Linked DNA regions of Homo sapiens: region 1 is linked to region 2. The links are contacts of gene promoters, found by promoter capture Hi-C in human tissues and cell types (Jung and others, 2019). All regions are on one chromosome and are shown on one strand. Each heading gives the region's core, a stretch centred on a gene start or on the middle of the fragment in contact. The rest is flanking DNA. Distances are from core to core; before and after follow the strand shown.

What was found. The method cuts DNA at HindIII sites, captures the fragments that hold promoters and counts their contacts. A contact is called where the count stands out against the background at its distance.
Region 1: a contact is called between a fragment that was not itself captured here and the fragment with the promoter of MRPS6 in region 2, in 4 of the 25 tissues and cell types used here (H1 embryonic stem cells, adrenal gland, hippocampus and 1 more).

The regions. Positions count from the first base shown.
Region 1 is chr21:34,161,790-34,165,774 of GRCh38, reverse strand. No RefSeq gene overlaps it. Among named protein-coding and RNA genes, the nearest start is that of LINC00310, 17 kb to the left of the region's middle. The HindIII fragment of the contact is 3,908 bases long and covers 1-3,465 here.
Region 2 is chr21:34,071,761-34,075,451 of GRCh38, reverse strand. It overlaps MRPS6 (mitochondrial ribosomal protein S6), which reads right to left and starts at 1,874. Exons shown (of 3, transcript NM_032476.4): 1 at 1,707-1,874. The coding sequence starts at 1,751. It overlaps SLC5A3 (solute carrier family 5 member 3), which reads right to left and starts at 1,874. Exons shown (of 2, transcript NM_006933.7): 1 at 1,707-1,874. RefSeq lists silencers at 1,217-1,616, 1,907-2,426 and an enhancer at 1,013-1,963. The HindIII fragment of the contact is 15,607 bases long and covers 1-3,691 here.

The DNA.
Region 1 (3,985 bases), core at 262-2,761, 91 kb before region 2:
GAAATAAAAACAGCCCTAAAGACTATTGGTAAAATGCAGGTCAGATGCAAGGTTTGCTAACTGTTTTGAGGTTACAAACTGCTTTTGGGGTTTTGAGAACTATTTGACTTGTCAGCTTCACAACTGGTAGGGACTGAGGACATGGAATTAGCTATGCCCTTAATTATGCTGGAGTCAAACCTTGGCTGCACTTAGCACACAATTAAAGCAAGTTACCAAGTTTTACCTTAAAGTTAAAAATTGCTAGGAGTTAATTGAAACTACTAGAAATAGATTTACAAGCAAGGTGTGTAAGAACAGTAAAATGTGGTTTTTTGGTGAAAAGTTATAAGAAGACATGGAAATGTAAACCTTTACCTAGGGTTTAAAGATTGTTTTGAGTTAAATTAGGAAGAAGCTGAAGGTTCGAAGAAGAAGTGGAAGAATTGTGGAAGTTAATCTTGCAGAAGAGGGTCTCTATGCAAACATATTAGCTAAATTCAAGAGTATTATACCTGTAAAAAGCAAAGATTCCTCTTCAAAAACTTTCCCCTCCATCTAATTAGGAATAAATAGTAACTTCTCTTAAAAACAAAATTTAGGCCGGGCACGGTGGCTCACGCCTGTAATCCCAGCACTTTGGGAGGCCAAGGCAGGTGGATCACGAGATCAGGAGATTGAGACCATCCTGGCTAACATGGTGAAACCCTGTCACTACTAAAAACATACAAAAAATTAGCCAGGCGTGGTGGCGGGTACCTGTAGTCCCAGCTACTCAGGAGGCTGAGGCAGGAGAATGGCATGAATCTGGGAGGCAGAGCTTGCAGTGGGCCAAGACTGCGCCACTGCACTCCAGGCTGGGTGACAGAGCAAGACTCCGTCTAAAAAAGAAAAAAAAAAAATCAAAATTTATTCAAAGACCTGTGCTAACATTCTTAAATAGCTGCTAGCCGTAATAAAAAAGTCAATATACTTCATATTCTTAGGTCCCACAGTTTAGCCTAAATATTTGCCTTGGCGTGCTTATACTGGTCCAAGCAAGCATTAGGTCATAGCCTGTTCCTCTTCTTTATTTAAAGGTGTTTTTACCTTTCTCAGCATTCCACAAGTTACTTCTTCCTTCCTTTATTCTCCTCTGTCTTTGCCTCTTTTAAAAAGTTCTAAGTTGCTGGCCAATCAGGACAAATACAAAACGTAAGGTCCCGTTCCTGCCAATGAAAACCAGACACAGCAGTAGGGTGGACGCGTCAGGTTATAAATGACCCTGTCTCCTTTGTTCGATATACTCTCATGGCAAAACTGCTGGCAAGTGTAACTTTTCTGCCAAAAATATAAAAATGGCCTTGCTGAGAAAATTAAATTTATGTTCAAGTGCTCTTTCTTTACGGCACCAGGGAACAAACATTTCAAACATATGGTTTTTCTGTAAATTGAGTATTGAAATAAAAACACAACAAGGAATTCTTAAAATACTAATCTGCTCTTTGGCAAAGTTTATAAAGGTTTATAAAAGCTTTTTGTTTCTTTAAATTTCTAAGTCATCACTTTGGCAAAATAAATAACTTATAGTAATCTGGAACTCTATTTCATAATAGCAAATGTTTTAAACCTCAAACATTTACTAGCCTTCCCAAAATCAAACTTCAGTTTCAAAATTGTCTTTCCTGACATCTTGCTTTTTGAATACTTCAGAGGGCCCCTGGAGTGTCCAGAAAAGAGAAGTAAACAGGATTATTTGACATGTTTAGGTACATGGGATTGCCAAAATGATGCTCAATCTTCTTTAGGTTATATCTTGGTGAATAATGCTAATATATGTTCCAAAATTGTACAGGATTTCTAAAATTCTAATGTCTGAGTATATGCTATCAACCATAATTAAGGTTTTTATGTTAAGTTATTGTAAACCACAGAGATAACCAAACTTCTTTGTCAATTGTGTTTCTAACTGTAACTACTCTGGACATTCTGCTGTTCATAGACAATTGTTGTCTTGTTTTAATCCTTTTCAAAAGATGGTTTATAACAGGGTATAAGACTCTGACAGGTGCTTTCAGATACAATTTCTGATTGTATTTGAGACAATCAGGTTTGATAACTTTGGAGACTGTGACACTGGAATAAAGGAAAATGTACAGGACTCACAAAAAGCAGAAATGTTCACAAATATCAAACAAAACTGGAGTTAACTAAATAAGCTGAGCTCACGAAGCTGAAGTAAACTTTTTGACTTTTTCTTGGAATATTGTTGATCCTTGTTTTGTTTTTCATAGTCAAGGAAACTTGTTTTGAACTATTATGGCCTTTAGTAATTGAGTAAGGTATACTCCTATGAACGAAAACGTGGAGCATGTTTGTTTCTCTCTGCCTGGTTCCTCTAGAATTTGGAAACTATCTATGAGTATTCTTATGGCAATATAGTTGTTTGCATCAGTGCAATAGGAATCCATTTTTCTTTTGCAACAGGACACAATTGGAGAAAGTGATTATTTTACCAAGGCTTTGACTGGAAGGGTATGCTTCCCTTTAAGGAGTCAATCTCGATTCGCAGAGCCGATAAAAGCCCCATGGGGGAAACTGACCTCATACGCTCGTCTGTGCAGTCCCTGTACAGGGTTCCTGACCTGTGGAATGTCACTTTCTAACAGGTCTAACAGGTCTAGGAGCTCCAAGTTTATCTTGGGACCTTAAGAGGAGAAAATCATCCAACTCACAGGTGTTTGAGGATACAAACCCATGGTTGGGCTCAGCTTTAGAAGGTCTTATCTGAGACTTCTTGTGGAACAAACTTCCATCAAAGCCAATCCAAAAGGCCTATGTAGAAATAATTATTCTTGCTGCACTTTATCCAAATAATCAAGCCAAGAATAAGACTAAAGTTTATTTTGCGAACCATTCAGTCCTATGATCATTTGTTTTTTTAACAAACATGAGGACTGGAGAGAGAGAAATCATGTTTCCAAGCTTATATTTGTCATTAAATTCTAAACTCGCTAGTTGTTTTTAAGTTTTTGCCTACATTTTAGACTAACCCTGCTTCTTCCTGTGAACCAACCAGCAATCTCCAGCTGCAGCTCAGAAAGAACAAGAGGGATGGGAAATGTAAAAATCTGGATCAATATTCTAGTTCTGAGCAGTTATCCTGCAAATCCTGCCAGGTGATGGGAATAAATAGGATGTCCATCACCCAGAGGCTTTTTGGGGGGAAAGTAAAACCAAGGTAGCTAACCAAAGCCAAGTGGCATGCAGCCAAATCCCAGAAAGCATAACTATAGCTACCGGTTATCTGGGTGTGTCACAAGACATCCTTTCTTCTCTCTTGTTGGAGGACTCAGTTCCACATCTTCACCTTAGCATTCAGCTTATGATAAGGAGTCCATGCAACCCCCCAGAGACATATTTTTATCCTAAACTCAATTCCAAGCTTTGGGTCAAAGCCCTATGAAAGAAAACTGGATCTAAGAGATCCAGATGCAGACAAAAACAGAAGTTAAAAGGCACCGCGCAGGTGAGGGTGGTTGATTCCTGCTGATTAAGCCAAGCCCAAGCTTCCTGTTTCATGGATAAAGGCCACCTTAATATCCATGGCATAAATGAGGTCCAGGGAACTCCAAGGCTACTGACAGCAGGTCGGAAAGAGACATAGGTGAGAGCAGATAGTTTCTATTCTCTAGGCCCTCCCTGCTTCATGGGTGCAAGTCGCTTTAGCACTCATGGCAGGACCTGCCAAGGTCACCGGGACTCGAGGAATGCAAGGATGGAAGAGGGAAAGAGGATGCTCTTCCCCTTCTCCCTCAAGTACCCCAGGTATCTGTTAGGAAGAGAAGGGAGCCAGGGATACCTGCTCCTCTCTTTCTAGATGAGTAGCCCTTCATCTTCAGTCTGTGCCCCTTTAGAATGCATCCTGAATCCCTGGGACTCCTTTGAAAAAATGCCTTCTCTTTTTCCTTTCTTTTCCTCTGTCCTCTCTTCACTGATAGGTAATTGTGTCTCTGTACTATGGGAC
Region 2 (3,691 bases), core at 625-3,124:
TGCTCCACATCCAAAGGCTATGTTATTACAGGACATAAAAAAAAATGGTAAAAGAAATACACTTAATACTTGCAGCCATGTTAACCAAGATACTTGGCAACTATGGCAAAAACAAAGGGGAGGGCAAGTCTTCATTTCAAAGGTTTCAAAGGGTTACAGAATGAGCAAATATTATTGCCTACAGGTTGCCTCTTTCAGTGTCACCTGCTACCTCCCCAAGACAAGGAAAGTAAACAAAAGGAATTTCAGTAACGAATTTCCCAGGTTCCACATTCCCTAAAACACGTAAGTTGAAGGGAGGGCTTAAACAACTTCCACCTAATTAAAAATCTTCCCTTTTAATAATGCTTTGTTTTCACTGCTCCTATCCTTTCGGAGTTACATATGCTGGTAAGCAAGGAGGAGGGCCAAAAGGGATATTCAAGAGGCTGAACAGATACTATCTTAACTTCTTCCAAATCCATGAAGAACAAGCTGGGGGACACAATGGCATGCCTGGCCAGGCTGTCTGGACCTCATAGAGAGGCACTGGCGTCCCTTCCCAGTTAACAATATGCAAAGCACACTTCCTAACAATCTCCCGACGCTCCGTGATTGTTAGTTTATCAATTGAGCTTAAGTTCAACCAAACTTGGTAATACTCCTCGCAATTGACCTGGAGCCTAATTTCAAACGTAAAAATGCGTCCACTCCTCTAGCGCTGTAGGAAGCTGTGCTTACAAAGTTCGGACGTGGTACAATGATTTTTGTTTTATTACACCTGGTGGAGAAAAAAAAACATAACACCAAACTACGTTACCGAATTCCGAATTCACGGGAGAATGGGGATTTCGGCGACGACTTGAGGAGTACATGACCCAGGACAGAGGACGAAGTGAGCTGCCTCCGGGCCGCGGGCCCCTGTCCTTGGCCACGCCGTCACCTGAAAGGGGCCGCTGGTTCGCTTAGCATCCCTCCAAACCTGAAATCCCCTACCTCAAGATCAATCAAAAGCAGGGGGAAGAAAGTGTCTTCTGGAGGCGCAAGAAAGGCCACAACTTGGATGAATGAAACTGGGCTAAGGGCACCCGGAGCGGGATTTTCGCTGAAGTCAGAAAAAGAAAAGTCAAAAGATTTTTTTTTAACATGAGAGCGATTGCAAGAGACTGGAATACAGACAACGGCACAAACAAGCTTTGGAGGAACGCTTTATTGGGCGCGGACGTTCCGGGCGGCCGGCGGGCGCTAGAGCGGAGGCGGTCGGCGGCAGCCGGCGGGCGGCGGAGCGGGACGGACCAGGCGGCGGCGGCGGGGCCGGCGACGAGGCAGCTTCACGACTGGCGGGGACGGGCCGGAGTCGGGCTGGGCGCCCGCGCGTGTCCTCCCGCGGACCTTCCACTGGACTCCCGCGGGCCGGCGCCGGGATCGGGGTCGGGGCCCGCTCGGTCCGCCCCGCCCCCCGCCCGGCGGGCCGCTTGCGAGGCACACCCTCCCGGACCGCGCACACGCGCAGGCACACCCCCGCCTCCCGCGCGCACGCGGCCGGGCCCGGCCGGCCCACGCGCGCCCCCTTCCCGCGGACGCCCGCCGCCCGCCCGCCGCCCCGGCCTCCTCCGAGGAGTGCAGGAAGGCCCGGGGTCCCGCGGCCAGGGCGCGCGGGGGACGGCGGCCTAGCGGCAGCGGGGGCGCCCGCGCGGGAAGACCGGCTCTGAGGGAAGGTCACTTACCCGCTGCATGGCTTTCAGGATTAAAGCCAGCTCGTAGCGGGGCATGCCTGGAGGATCGGCGAGTGCGGCTCGGAAGCCAGCCGGTTCCCGGGACGCGAAGGGGCGGGACGGCGGGGACAGTGGGGACCTAGAAACTGCTGCGCCGGACGGCTCCCAGGCGGCGAAAGCACGGTCCGAGAGCGCGAGCCCGGGCTTAAAGGCGCTGGCAGCTGCGCAGACGCCGCGCCACGCCCCCTCGGCGCGCCCCGCCCCGCCCGCGCGCCTTGCCGCCGCCCCGCCCCCTCTCCGCCCGCGGGCGGCCGCCACGCCCCCTCCGCAGCCCCGCACCCGCCGCACCGCCCCCGCCCCGACCCCAGCCCAGCCCGCCGGCCGCGGCTAGGGGCGGTGCTGCAGACGCGGCCCAGAGCGGCTCGCGGCGGCCGCACGCCCCCTCGCGACCCTGCCTGCCCCTACCCCGCCTCCTGCCATGCCTGCTACCTAGCTCTCGAACCGGCTGGAACTTTCCATGCCTTCCTTCTCCTCCCGGGCGGCGGGCGAGTGAGTGCCCGCCAGTGCGCGTGCGCTGCGGTGCGGTCTCGTCCGTGCGCGTGCCCCTCGCCCGCGACTCCCCGGAGCTAGGGACCTTCGCGGCGCAAGGCGGGGTCGCGGCCGGCCCGGGGGCTGTGCGGCCAACGGCTGCTCGCAGGGGTTCTGGAACATTCCCGCCCGGGGTCGGTAGGGGGGTGCAGCTCTCGCCCCCAGCCACAACTCTCAGGTCTGACGCGGCTGACCAGGCCCCCTACCCGGCGAGGAGCGCGCTGGCACAGGCCGTGGGCCGCGGCGCGCGGGCTCGGGTCTGACTCAGTCCCTTGGCACTGCGTGACCTTGGGCCTGCTGCCTGTGCCGAAAGTGGGGACCCGAGTGAGTTACTGCACGTTAACCTCCGAGGACGGTGCCTGGTACACACAGGCGCGATACGGGCATTTGTGGTGTGCCCCTGACCTGCCCCCACGTGTTTCAGCGGAGGGCAGGCGAACACCTTAACTCTATCTCATTTCTTTAAATGTTTCCTCCGCTTTCACTTAAAGGCTAGGCTGAGTGCCTGGGAGACCCTTTAGCAACTGTCTAAGGTGGGCAGGGGCATACGTTCTGCCCTTGCCATCCCTTTACACCCACATGGTTCTCCGCCCTCCAGCCAGGGGCTCTGCAAGTGCAGTTTTCTCCAGCGCCCTTCCTTAGAGGTTGAGTACCCTGCAGCTGAGGCCTCTGCCCCTTGTTTGCCCCATTAAAAGCTCTGTACGTGGAGTGTTTGTCAACTTAAAGTGCTTTAACGTTAATAGGTAAAGTTTAGTGAACACTTACTCTGCATCAGGCCCCATGCCAAGGCTGGTGGATGTGTCTCCTAAAATTCTCACAACAGCCCTGAGGTGACAAAGATTCTTTGCTTGGCCAAACTTTAGTCAGGCTTCTGAATCTCATGCTAGGCCCATCTGTGCACTTCCTTGTAAAATCCAGTTCTAGCACAGAACCCCCATCCCCTCATAGCAGATCAGGTTCCTCATCTTCCTCTATCCCCCAGTCATGTCTTTTCACCCTGGCCTGAGTTCTACAAGAATCCTTTAGATCGGTTGAGCCAGAATCCCTCTTCCCCCGATGGTTACTCTTAGTGATTTTACATGGCCATAAATTTCTACTTGCCGACGCTGCATTCAGAATTGGAGCCCACTCTCTCTCCCCGGGTTTCCCTGATCCCTGTACCCATCGCGTTGGTCCTGAATAAAGTCTTTCTTACCATGCTTTAGTAAGCATCACTGAGTAATTTTTTTAAACAGAGGCAAGCACTGTTAACCCCATATTAGGGATTAGGAAATGTAGGCACAAAAAGTTTTGTAACTAGTCCAAGGTCATACAGTAATAGAAACAAAGTACTTTTAGCCGCCCCTCTACCCTTCTGACCTCCGGTTCTCCTACCACACAGATGAAGATGCTGATTGTTATTCAGTGGA